Regions from separate parts of the Homo sapiens genome. Here regions 2 and 3 are each linked to region 1. The links are contacts of gene promoters, found by promoter capture Hi-C in human tissues and cell types (Jung and others, 2019). All regions are on one chromosome and are shown on one strand. Each heading gives the region's core, a stretch centred on a gene start or on the middle of the fragment in contact. The rest is flanking DNA. Distances are from core to core; before and after follow the strand shown.

What was found. The method cuts DNA at HindIII sites, captures the fragments that hold promoters and counts their contacts. A contact is called where the count stands out against the background at its distance.
Region 2: a contact is called between a fragment that was not itself captured here and the fragment with the promoter of CTSZ in region 1, in 1 of the 25 tissues and cell types used here (spleen).
Region 3: a contact is called between a fragment that was not itself captured here and the fragment with the promoter of CTSZ in region 1, in 2 of the 25 tissues and cell types used here (H1 embryonic stem cells and dorsolateral prefrontal cortex).

The regions. Positions count from the first base shown.
Region 1 is chr20:59,005,856-59,009,346 of GRCh38, forward strand. It overlaps CTSZ (cathepsin Z), which reads right to left and starts at 1,399. Exons shown (of 6, transcript NM_001336.4): 1 at 1,131-1,399; 2 at 467-630. The coding sequence starts at 1,273. RefSeq lists enhancers at 651-1,462, 2,143-2,302, 2,323-2,432, 2,573-2,652 and a silencer at 1,083-1,682. The HindIII fragment of the contact is 3,977 bases long and covers 1-2,824 here.
Region 2 is chr20:58,675,550-58,678,863 of GRCh38, forward strand. STX16 (syntaxin 16) reads left to right here. Exons shown (of 9, transcript NM_001001433.3): 9 at 638-3,314. The coding sequence ends at 742. The region is part of intron 8 of STX16-NPEPL1 (STX16-NPEPL1 readthrough (NMD candidate)); the gene reads left to right. Among named protein-coding and RNA genes, the nearest start is that of NPEPL1, 16 kb to the right of the region's middle. RefSeq lists enhancers at 278-803, 804-1,328. The HindIII fragment of the contact is 6,742 bases long and covers 1-3,314 here.
Region 3 is chr20:59,404,442-59,407,685 of GRCh38, forward strand. No RefSeq gene overlaps it. Among named protein-coding and RNA genes, the nearest start is that of EDN3, 110 kb to the left of the region's middle. RefSeq lists an enhancer at 1-494. The HindIII fragment of the contact is 6,284 bases long and covers 1-3,244 here.

The DNA of each region.
Region 1 (3,491 bases), core at 149-2,648:
CCTAAGATAGAAACCCACCAGGCTGGAGGTAGTGACCAGGTTAGGCCATGGGCTGTAGCCAACTAGCCTCACCCAATATTCCAAGCCCAGGACAGGCTTTCATCTGTGCTGAGAAGCAGTTTACTTCTGTATCCTCAAATACAGCCTGGGGACTCAGTGATTTTGCATTTCTGTTTCTATCCCAATGGCTGAGGTCACAAGCTTTGGGGGAGAGAGGGCACCTGGCAGCCACTTGTCACTGGGATTCAGTCCTAGTCCTGCCTGTCACCCAAAAGCCCCAGAATGACCCAGCTTGGGTCACCTCAGCAGAGGGCAAAGGCCCGCGCTCCTCGGCCTTAGCACCCCAGCCCAGGCTGACCTGGCCTTGAATCACAGGCCCCTGGAACCGCGGGCTGAGCTGCCTGGGCCTATAAACAGGCAGCCGGGATGGGCTTTCCTGGCCCACAGTCAAAGGGCGGCCACTCACCCGCCATAGCGCTGGTGCTGGCGTGGGCCCAGCAGGAGCCGCAGTATTGGGGGATGTGCTGGTTCCGGGTGATGCTGGCATAGTTGACACCATCCACATTGCGCCAGTCCCAGCTCTTGGGCAGATCCGCTGGGGACAGGTACTCATGAGGCCGGGGGTATGTGCTGAGAAGAGATCATCCCCACCCAGATCGGTGCTGGGGCTCCCGGGGGCCGTGGGCCCAGGAAGCCCTCGGTAGGGCCCTCCCGCCTTTCCCAACACCTGAGGGCATGGGAGTGGGGCCACAATCACCAGAGGTGAGCCAGGTGTGGGCCCACCTCACACTAGGAGGCTCCAGCGCTCTCAGAATGTGAAGGAGGCAGGGCACCCCCGAAAGGAGGGAACCGGGTTGCTCCCCCAGCCATGCCGCGCCGTAAGGGCCACCCCCAGAGGCCGAGGAGGTGGGGCTGGCCTGGCTTTCTGGCCAGGTGGGGCTTGTCCAACCCCACAAACATCAGGGCTCACCCTGGATGTGGAAGAGAAGGAGCGACCCCCAAAACGAAGCGGCTGGATCTGACCTTCCAAGGCCTGTTGGCGACGCAGGGCCCCCAGGAGGCAGAGCGCGCGCCTGGCCCGGGCGATGGGCCTCCCGTCCCCCCAGGGCTGCCTCCCCGCCGGTGCCCACCTGCGCCCCAGCGGAGCCAGCCCGTCCCCCCGCAGAGGCCGGTAGCAGGTCTGTCCCCGGCGGAAGTAGAGGCCGCCCTGCGCCGCGCCCGCCAGCAGCACGAGCAGCAGAAGCGGCCGCCACCCTGGCCCGCGCCTCGCCATGGCCCCGCGCCGGCTCCTGGGTCCCGCTCCGGATCCCGCTCCGAGTCCCAGATCCCGCGCCGGCTCCCGCTCTGGATCCCGCCCCGGCCTCGGCCTCGGCCCAGCACCCGGCCGACCCCGCACTTTGGGCCCCTGCCCCGCCCGGCCCTTAAGGCTGCGGCGGCCAGGCCGGGACACTCCCCCGGGGCGGGGCTGTCCCATCGCTGCTCCTGCCCCGCCCGGTGACCCCTGCCCTCCCCGCCCGGCTCCGCGCCCCGCTCCCTCCCTGGCTCCGGGGCACCTGAACTCGCGGGCCAGGCGCGAGGTCGCCGGGCAGACCCCAGCCTGACCCCGCCGCCGGCCGCCGCCCTGAGCGCGGGACTGTCCGGCTGGACTCATTTGCCGGGGTTCCTGGCTTCGGGGTGGGGGGCCGCAGGCTCATGGGCCCCCTTGGCCCTGCATTCCTGGGGCCCTGAGCCCTGGGGAGAGGCCCCCAGCCTCACATCTGGGCCCAGGCCTCCCCTAGGAAGGGATCCTGGGATGCGGCCACCGCCCCCAAAGAAGGGTCCCCGCGCCTGGCTTTCTAAACCCCTTTTCCCAAAGGCCCAGGCCCTTTCGGGGGGACGGTTCCCTTTTGCAGAGAAGGAAGGAGGGATCCTTCTAGAAAATGCCCCAAAGGAAGATTCCACTTGGCGCAGGCATCAGGAGTTATCCAATGTGACTTCCAAAGACGCCTTGAAAAGGTTTTCTGCTAACGAAACTCTTCTTAGTCAAATGAGGAACCAAAAGCAGAAGTGGCCCCCCAGGACGTGGTTTTGTAACTGGGGGAGGGCTTCTCGCTCCCTGCGGCCCCTCTGTTTGTCATGGCCCTTGGGCCCACACCATGGCCTTCTTCTCTGGTAAGAACAGGGCCCGGCATTCTGGGCTGCGACCTGACAGGCCCCTGCTGGGGGCCCTTGGCACAGGGCCCACAGATGAGCTTGCCTGACTCTCTCCATACTCAGTGGCACTCACCACATTCCAAGCGTGCCACGTGGGCAAGGGGAAGTCACAGTGGCTGCCTCCTGACTTCCAGAAGCTTCCATGACCATTCCCGGAAGCGCTGAGGTGGCCATGGAATCCCCGCATGACTGTCCGAGTGGAGAGCAAGGCTGGAGAGCTGCTTCGTCAGCCCAGAAGTTTCAGTCCTTGTTCCCCAAAAAGTGGTCACTGAGGCAAAGTGTGGCCCCGGGGCTCTACCTACTGATGTGTCTCTTATTTGTTTGGCAAGTCGCTCATGGAAACCATTAGTGTCCATCAGTCATCAGAAGGCGGGGTGGGGTGGCCATCCTGGGAGAAGTCCCCAAGCTTGAGCTGGCGGTGGGGGTGGGAGCGAGGCCTCCCAACCTCTGGGCATAAAAGGAGTGGAAAGAGAATTGCCAAGAGGGGGCCTTTCTTCCTCCCATGTCAACCCTCTGGCCTCCCTGACTATAGGAGCTGGGTCCTTGTGAGGAAGAAACCCAGACACAGCTGCCCTTGCCAGGTCATCAGGTGGCATCTACCAAAGCGGCCGGTTTTTGGCTTCTTCTAAAGAAAAAGCTAAGAACTCACAAAATTGTGTGGTAAGAGATATCGTGCCCCTCCCTCCAGGTACCCATAGTTATGATCCAGGTACTGTGAAGTCCAACAGCACATTCTACAGCATGAGAAACAAGCCTGGAGAGGGGAGGGCCCCTTGTGCTTGGCCTCTGATGCCTGAGCTGTGATGTCCTGGGCCCTGGTCCCTGAATCTGGGTGAAAAGGCACCCAAGGTGTAAGCTTTTCTTTCCTGTAGCATGGGGAGAGCTGGGGTGCTCTGAAGATGCCCCGAGACTCTCCGAGCAGGTCCAGCGCATGTAGAAGGTATGACAGGCATGGTCAGCAAGGCAGGCACACGACCCCTGCAGTCACATGAGGCCCTAAGTCCAGAAGTGTAATGCAGAGCTGAACGAGGGGCTCTCCAGGTTCACTGTGCCCTGGGCCCTGCAAATTATGTAGCTGGGTCTGATGACAGCAACCACACCTGCTCCATCACAAGTCCTGTACATCACCCGCTTTCAGCCCAGAGCCTCTGGCAAATCAAACTCACAAACAGGGGTCAGGAGGAGGGGTGAGATGGTCAGGAAGGGGAATAAACATTCACAGTCCTGCTCCCAAATGCTGGCACAAAGCTTAATTTATCTGGGGAGTTCCAAAGAGGAGACTCTCCGGATTTACCCTA
Region 2 (3,314 bases), core at 296-2,795, 330 kb before region 1:
CGTCCCCAGATTGAGCTTGGAGGGCTCCTTTGCTGTATCGTTAGCGGCACTGGGAGGACGCGCCTCAGAGGGATCTTTCTGCATATGACATCCATGGGGCACACGTGTCTGTTTTTATTTCAAAGGATGAGTTTTTGTTTCCAAATTTAGGGGAGGTCGAAATGGGGCCTCTTCCGGGTGTCTGTTGCCTACCTGCCAGGTACGGTCCTCCAGCCCGTTGTTTCCTTCCGCGGTGAAGGAACTGTGCATTCGCTCCAGGAACACGGACCGGGAACAGGCGACCCGTGCTGCAGGGGCACTTGCCACGGCCTGCAGGAGGAAAAGCCGGGAGAAGCAGGCCCAGCTGCACCCGGAAGCATGAGCTTTCACTTCCCTGTCAGGCTTTGTCTTAGTAGTAGGTTTCCAACAAATCCATTTCCACGTCCAGGGTAAATAAGCAGCACCAGGATCATGGGGCTCTTCCACTCCTGGTGATTGAATTCCGTGGGATTGATTGGAGGGATTACAATCATGTAGCCTGTAGCAGAGACCTCAGTCACTGTGCAGAGAGATCTGGAAGCCTCATTCTGGAAACGAGTGGGACTTGATTTGGGATTTTGGGGAAAATGACGGCCTTTTTTCCCTCCTCTTTTTGTAGGCAGAACAGTATCAAAAGAAGAATCGGAAGATGCTTGTGATTTTAATATTATTTGTCATCATCATTGTGCTCATTGTTGTCCTCGTTGGCGTGAAGTCTCGATAAGTGGCATTGGGTTTTCGTGTGTGCCGCGCGTGTGGATCTCCCGGGTGTGAGGGGCTTGGCCTGCGCCCCGCCAGCTGCCCGCAGAGGTGCAGCCTCGAGGAATCTGAGGGCGTCGGGGCAGCGAACCTTTGCATCCACGGACTCCTCCTTCCCTAGTCCTGCTCAAGCGGTCCGGGGAATGGGTTTTTGTTTTTCCTTCATTGTTGAGAATTTAAGGACCTTTGATACTGCTGCACAATAGAGATTGAGTTCTGGGATCAGTTATAATATATATTTTTTTTAGAAAGAGAAAATGAGCTGAGAGTTTACAGGCACTGCAGAAGCTGTTCAGTATTATATGTGTATATGCTATTTTTTTAGCAGCCATGTCTGAGCAGAATGTTAACATAATTTTTGGAAAAATTTTCTTTAAACCATCTGGTTTTTAAGAAATTTGGTACCAAAAATTGATGAGTAGAGGCAAAAATGCCCCTTCATCTTTCTCTATATATTTTCCAGTTGAAAACAAACTAAGAAGTCCTTTAAGAATTTATAATCCGTTCCCCATTAACTTAATTTAGCTTTTCCATCACTGTTAATGATCAGAGTAACAAAGTGTGAAAAATAAGAAACCATCATTGATGTTAATTAACACATTTAGATGGGCCAGTTAAAACAGCTTCATAAGTTTTAAATTAATTGTAAATGGAATATTCCTCATTTAAAATTTTTGCACTGCATTTTCTACTGTAAACCAAAAGAGGTTACTAAGCAAAACCACCTAAATTTAAGTTGGTGATTTAAATGAATCTCACATTAAAAGAAAGCTTGACAGTGTTATGAAAGCCACCAGACTCAGCCAGTGTGTCCCCATGGGTATCCCCAGCCATCCTTGCTCAATCCATTACTTATATACTAACTACATAATGACCTGTTCAAACCAGACTCTATTTAATGAACTGTGAATTTACACAGAGGCCATTTTAAATGGGTCACCCCATTTAGGATTAGTGGATCTCAAATTATTAACCAAACATCACTCCATTTCAAAGTAAAATATTCCACCAGCGATTTGATTTATTGGCTCTTCCATTGCCACTGAGCAATGCCCAGGAAGCAGGCACATTGCCAAGGACTGGGGGCATCTTGACTAGGAAGCTCCTCGTTTGTGTGAGCGTGGGTCAGACCGCCAAAGTAGGACTTCATCGTTTACCTACCTATTATCAATATGGTGCTTGAATATATTCCTATAACTGTAGAACAGTGTGGAAAGTGATGGTAACTTTGAAGTTGTTCATGTTTTATTGGCTTTGTTTTAATTGACACTAGTAGAGTTTTAATGGTCTTTGTGTAAATTTTAATGGCTTTTCCATTGTTTTTGCTTCTCTTAAAAAGTTTAAGAAGAATATGACCTCATTAAATGTGCTGTTTTATTTGGACCAGTCACACAAAATGTCTCTCTAGAGTTGACTTTAAAGTTGTTTACAGAAATTTAAACTCAATTCCAGAGATTGAAGTTGTCCAAACAGCTCATGGGCTTAGTGTCCAAACCCCTGCCCAGCCTTCCCTTTCCAAGTTGGTGCCACCTCCAGGTAGCCATTGGTGGTTTTCCTATTACTGATGTGGCTGTGGAATGATAAGGTCCTAGAGGGGCCCTGGCATTTCAGGAAGCGGACCTGGTATTCCCTGACAAACATTGCTTAGGAAAGAGGGCCGGAGAATAAGAAGCCAGCACCTCATCAGTCAGCCCTGCAATGTGAGACTTCCGTAGCTGTTGAGAGTCACTGCAGGTGTTCTTTCATCCCATCTGATTTTAACCCATGGTTGAGACGTTCCAAGTTAGATCTGCTGCTCTTAGGTGTGGGGCTGTCCACATTAGGGAACTTGCCTCAAAAACAGTCCACAGTGGCAATACCGGACTTCTGTTCAAGCTTTTTAAAGTGCTGAGCCTTACAAACCCCTGAAGGAAAGTGACCCTTTAAGAGAGGATCATCTTTTTTTATATTTATTTTCACCAAATAGGGTGATGAGGGTTGGTTTTTGTTCCCTCAACCCATTTGGGTAAAATAACGGATCTGATTAGAAACTGTTTTAAGGAGGGGCTGGGCTCGGTGGCTCACGCCTGTAATCCCAGACTTTGAGAGGCCAAGGCGGTCACGAGGTCAGGAGTTCGAGACCAGCCTAGCCAACATGGTGAAACCCCGTCTCTACAAAAAATACAAAAATTAGCCGGGTGGGACACGCCTGTAATCCCAGCTACTCAAGAGGCTGAGGCAGGAGAATAGCTTGAACCCGGGAGGCAGAGGTTGCAGTGAGCCGAGATCACACCACTGCACTCCAGCCTGGGTGACAGAGCGAGGCTCCGTCTCAAAAAAAAAAAAAAAAAATTGTTTTAGCGCTGGGTTTCCCAAGGTGGGAGAGACAGACCCAGCCTGGAGCTGGCCCCTGGCCTGTGTGCTGACTTCTTGGGGTCCTCAAACCACTGTATTTTTCTGTTGAGCCTGTACTTGGGGAGAGATCAGTAGCATTTGAGGAAGTAAGAGAAAAGAATCATGGTACCTCAGGGTTTCTTTCCCTTTACTCGCTGGCAGCC
Region 3 (3,244 bases), core at 628-3,127, 400 kb after region 1:
CCCCGGTAGAGCTTCTGGGAAGATCACATGAAGTATGAAGCTTTGAGAGCTTTTGTACCCGACAGGCTCTCAGGAGGCAGCAGTCCAAACGGTGGAGGGATCATTATGACTAAGCAGGCACAGCTCCCAGCCGAGGGGGAGCTGGATCTCCCTGGCATCGACCACCCCAGGATGGTTATGGGATAAATACCTCTGCAGACGTTCAAGTGGAGAGGCTCAGGAGGATGCCGGGAATGTCTGCTGTTGCTGGGTGGGGAATTCAAATGATTTGTGTTCACTGTATCCCAGCTAAGAAGTTCTGGGCCGGGGCAATCTTTCTGATGCCCTCTTGTCTCCTGTTAACAAGGATTAGCTCAGCAGTATAGACAGGACCATAAAATATACCACCTTAGCCAGATCCTGGGGAGGCCACTAATGGAGCCACACTGGGCCAGGTCCACGGGGGCCTCTCAGTCACAGCTGGGAGATGAGGCAAAGCCACCGTCGTCCTCACCTGCCCATCCACCATCCCGGTGAGGTCAGTGCTCAAAACCTGTCTTTATCCCAGTCCGGTCTCACAGGGAGTATTTGTGCTGCTTTAAAGCCCTTCCCGGTGTCCTACTTACTTCTCCCTCTCAACCCGCCGGCTGAGATAGGCTAAAGAGAACATCGTTTCTTCAACAGATGTTTATTGAGGACCTGTTATATTTCGGGAGCCGTGCTGGCCGCTAGGGACACAGCCTGAACAAGATAGGTCCCTCTTCTCTCAGGGAACTGACATTCTGGTGGAGAGAGGACAAAAACCATGTATTAATAAGTAAACAAGACAATTTCAGAAGACAAAGGCTGTGAATGAAGCAAAATAGGATAGACAGTAATTGGAGAGGGCTCCTTTACACAAGGGGCGGGGGGCGGGGATAAGAAGAAGGAGCTGGCTGAGTGCAGAACAGCAGGAAGGGTATTCTAGGCAGAGTGAATAGCAGGTTGAGGCCCGGGGTCAGGGGAGAATGAGCTCTGCCCGTTTGAGGAATGGCAGGAAGGGCCCTGGGGCAGGTGCGCAGTGGTCAGGGAAGCGGCCAGAGCTGGCTTGTGCTGGATGCAAAGAGAAGGTAAGGGATTGGAGTACTTAATAAATATTTGTCAAGTGAGTGAATGCATAATTTGATCTATCCATGTACAGTTGACCAGGTGGCGAAGGTTTGCCGAGTCAGCTTCTGTCCATTTTCTCTACTTAGTGGTGTCAGCTCTCAAAGACTTCTTGCTTCAGAGCCCCTCTCCGTGCTCCTGTGAGGGTGGGGATGAACCCTGAAAAGCCGTCTCCTTGTGGGCATTGCTGTTGTGTTCTCAGCATTCTTGCACGTTGACTTAAAGCTATTCAAACTCCTTATGAGCATCTGAGGGAGAGGAGCTGGATCCACACTCTGGACTCTTGACTCCAACTTTGAAATAAAATATTTAAACAGCCCATCTCATGATATTCAAAACAATAGTCTGAAAAGTATTCTGCAATAGTCATTGAAACAAAATGCCTAATTCCCAAATTACCAGTCTACAGAGTTCCCAAGGAAGAAGCGTGGATGTGAAACAGCTGCAGACTCCGTTGTTTCCTGGATGGCCCGAAACAGTTGTTCTCACTCAGTTTCACTTGAGAATCACTTTCAAGGAGGAGACTTTTTCAATTTGCCATAAATCTTACCATGTTTATTTTTAGAAGTTTCAGCTCCGTGATAATTTGCAAATGAGAAATGTTTAGAACCCATGTTGAACTGAACTTCCCCAAGAGGAGACTGGATTACATTAGATGAAATGGAAATAGAAGTCAAATTTTGGGGAACACTGACGTCCTTGCCATGAAACCATCCATTGTGGATGTGCCCTCATTGTGGAACCTCACCTGCAATGTTTATGTGCTGGAAATAGAATTATATCAGCCATTCACACTTTAGTCTAAACATGAGGCACTTGTTCCTGCTCTCCATCATGAATCCATGTGAATCCTAAAAAATAAGATATCTTTTGTCCCAATTTCACAGTGGACCAATGGAGGAGCAGTGGATGTGTAGCCACCGAAGTCTCAAGATGGCTTTGGAGGTTCTGGGTGATGATGGGGGCTCCAGGGTTTCTAAGAATCTTTGAGAAGTCCACACTTGGGAGCTGGAAAGCCATCCAGAGCAAGGCAAGTGTTGATCCTCACAAACAAGAATTTCCCAAAGTTGCGAAAGAAGCCCTGCTGAGGAAGCAGGAGTACTAAGCTTGAGTCTTGGCTCCCGCTCTCCCTGTGTGACAACAGCCAAGCTCTAGGCCCATAGAGGAAAGAGTCTGAATCCCCAATCCAAACCTTTCACTTCTCAGCTAGGAAACGGGGGCTTACTGAAAGAGGGCACTGCCAGGTTGCCAGTGCAAAAGTTGTCCTTTCTGAGCCTCAGTGTAAACCCACAGGGGGTGTCTTCCTCACAGTCACGTGAGCAGGCCAAGCCTTCCTTCTGACTCCCAAGTCATCTGTGGACAGAGACAGCTGGAGAAACGGTTTCCTAGAGCACTAGCAAGCCTCTAGCTGGACATACCTCCATTGAGTTTCATCAGAAACGGGTAAACCTGGGTGCAGAGTTGCATAAACTTAGGCAGGTGCATCCAGATCCCAGAGCCTTATTCCTGGATGTAAGGTTTCTTGCGAGGTGTGGCTTCTCTGCTTGCTGCAATCCAAGGAGTGAAAATGTATTTTGTATCTTCTCCTCAAGAAGAGAAGAAAATAACGAAAGAAGGAAAAACAATAAAAGAAGGGTAAAAAGAGGAGAGGCAAATTGAGCTACGTTGGGTTTATCTCAGTCATAAAATGAGGGATGACTTCCGTAAAGTTCATATTCTTTCTGCCTCTTGTCCAACTGTTTAAGCAATTATTGAGTGTCTCCTATGTTCTGGGGGCTATGCTGCAGCCTGAGGTTACAAAGAGTGGCAGGACCTGGCTGTGTCTTCAGTAAACCCCTACTTTCTACACTCAAGTTAGGGAGATAATGTCAAGGAGTTTAGCTTTTGCTTACTTGTTTCTTTTCTTTTTTTCTTTTTCCCTTTTCCATTTCCCTAGGCCTGTTTCTGTACCTTGCTCTTTCCTTCCTAGCTCTGCTCTCTCCATCCCTCTTTGACCACCACGTACAGTAATACTTTTATTCACTGAGTGTATTACGTTGAGTTTTATCTCACATGTCCTTTACTTTAGAAATGAATGACTCTGATTCATGGAACCTCTCTCCACACACAGGATTCATTT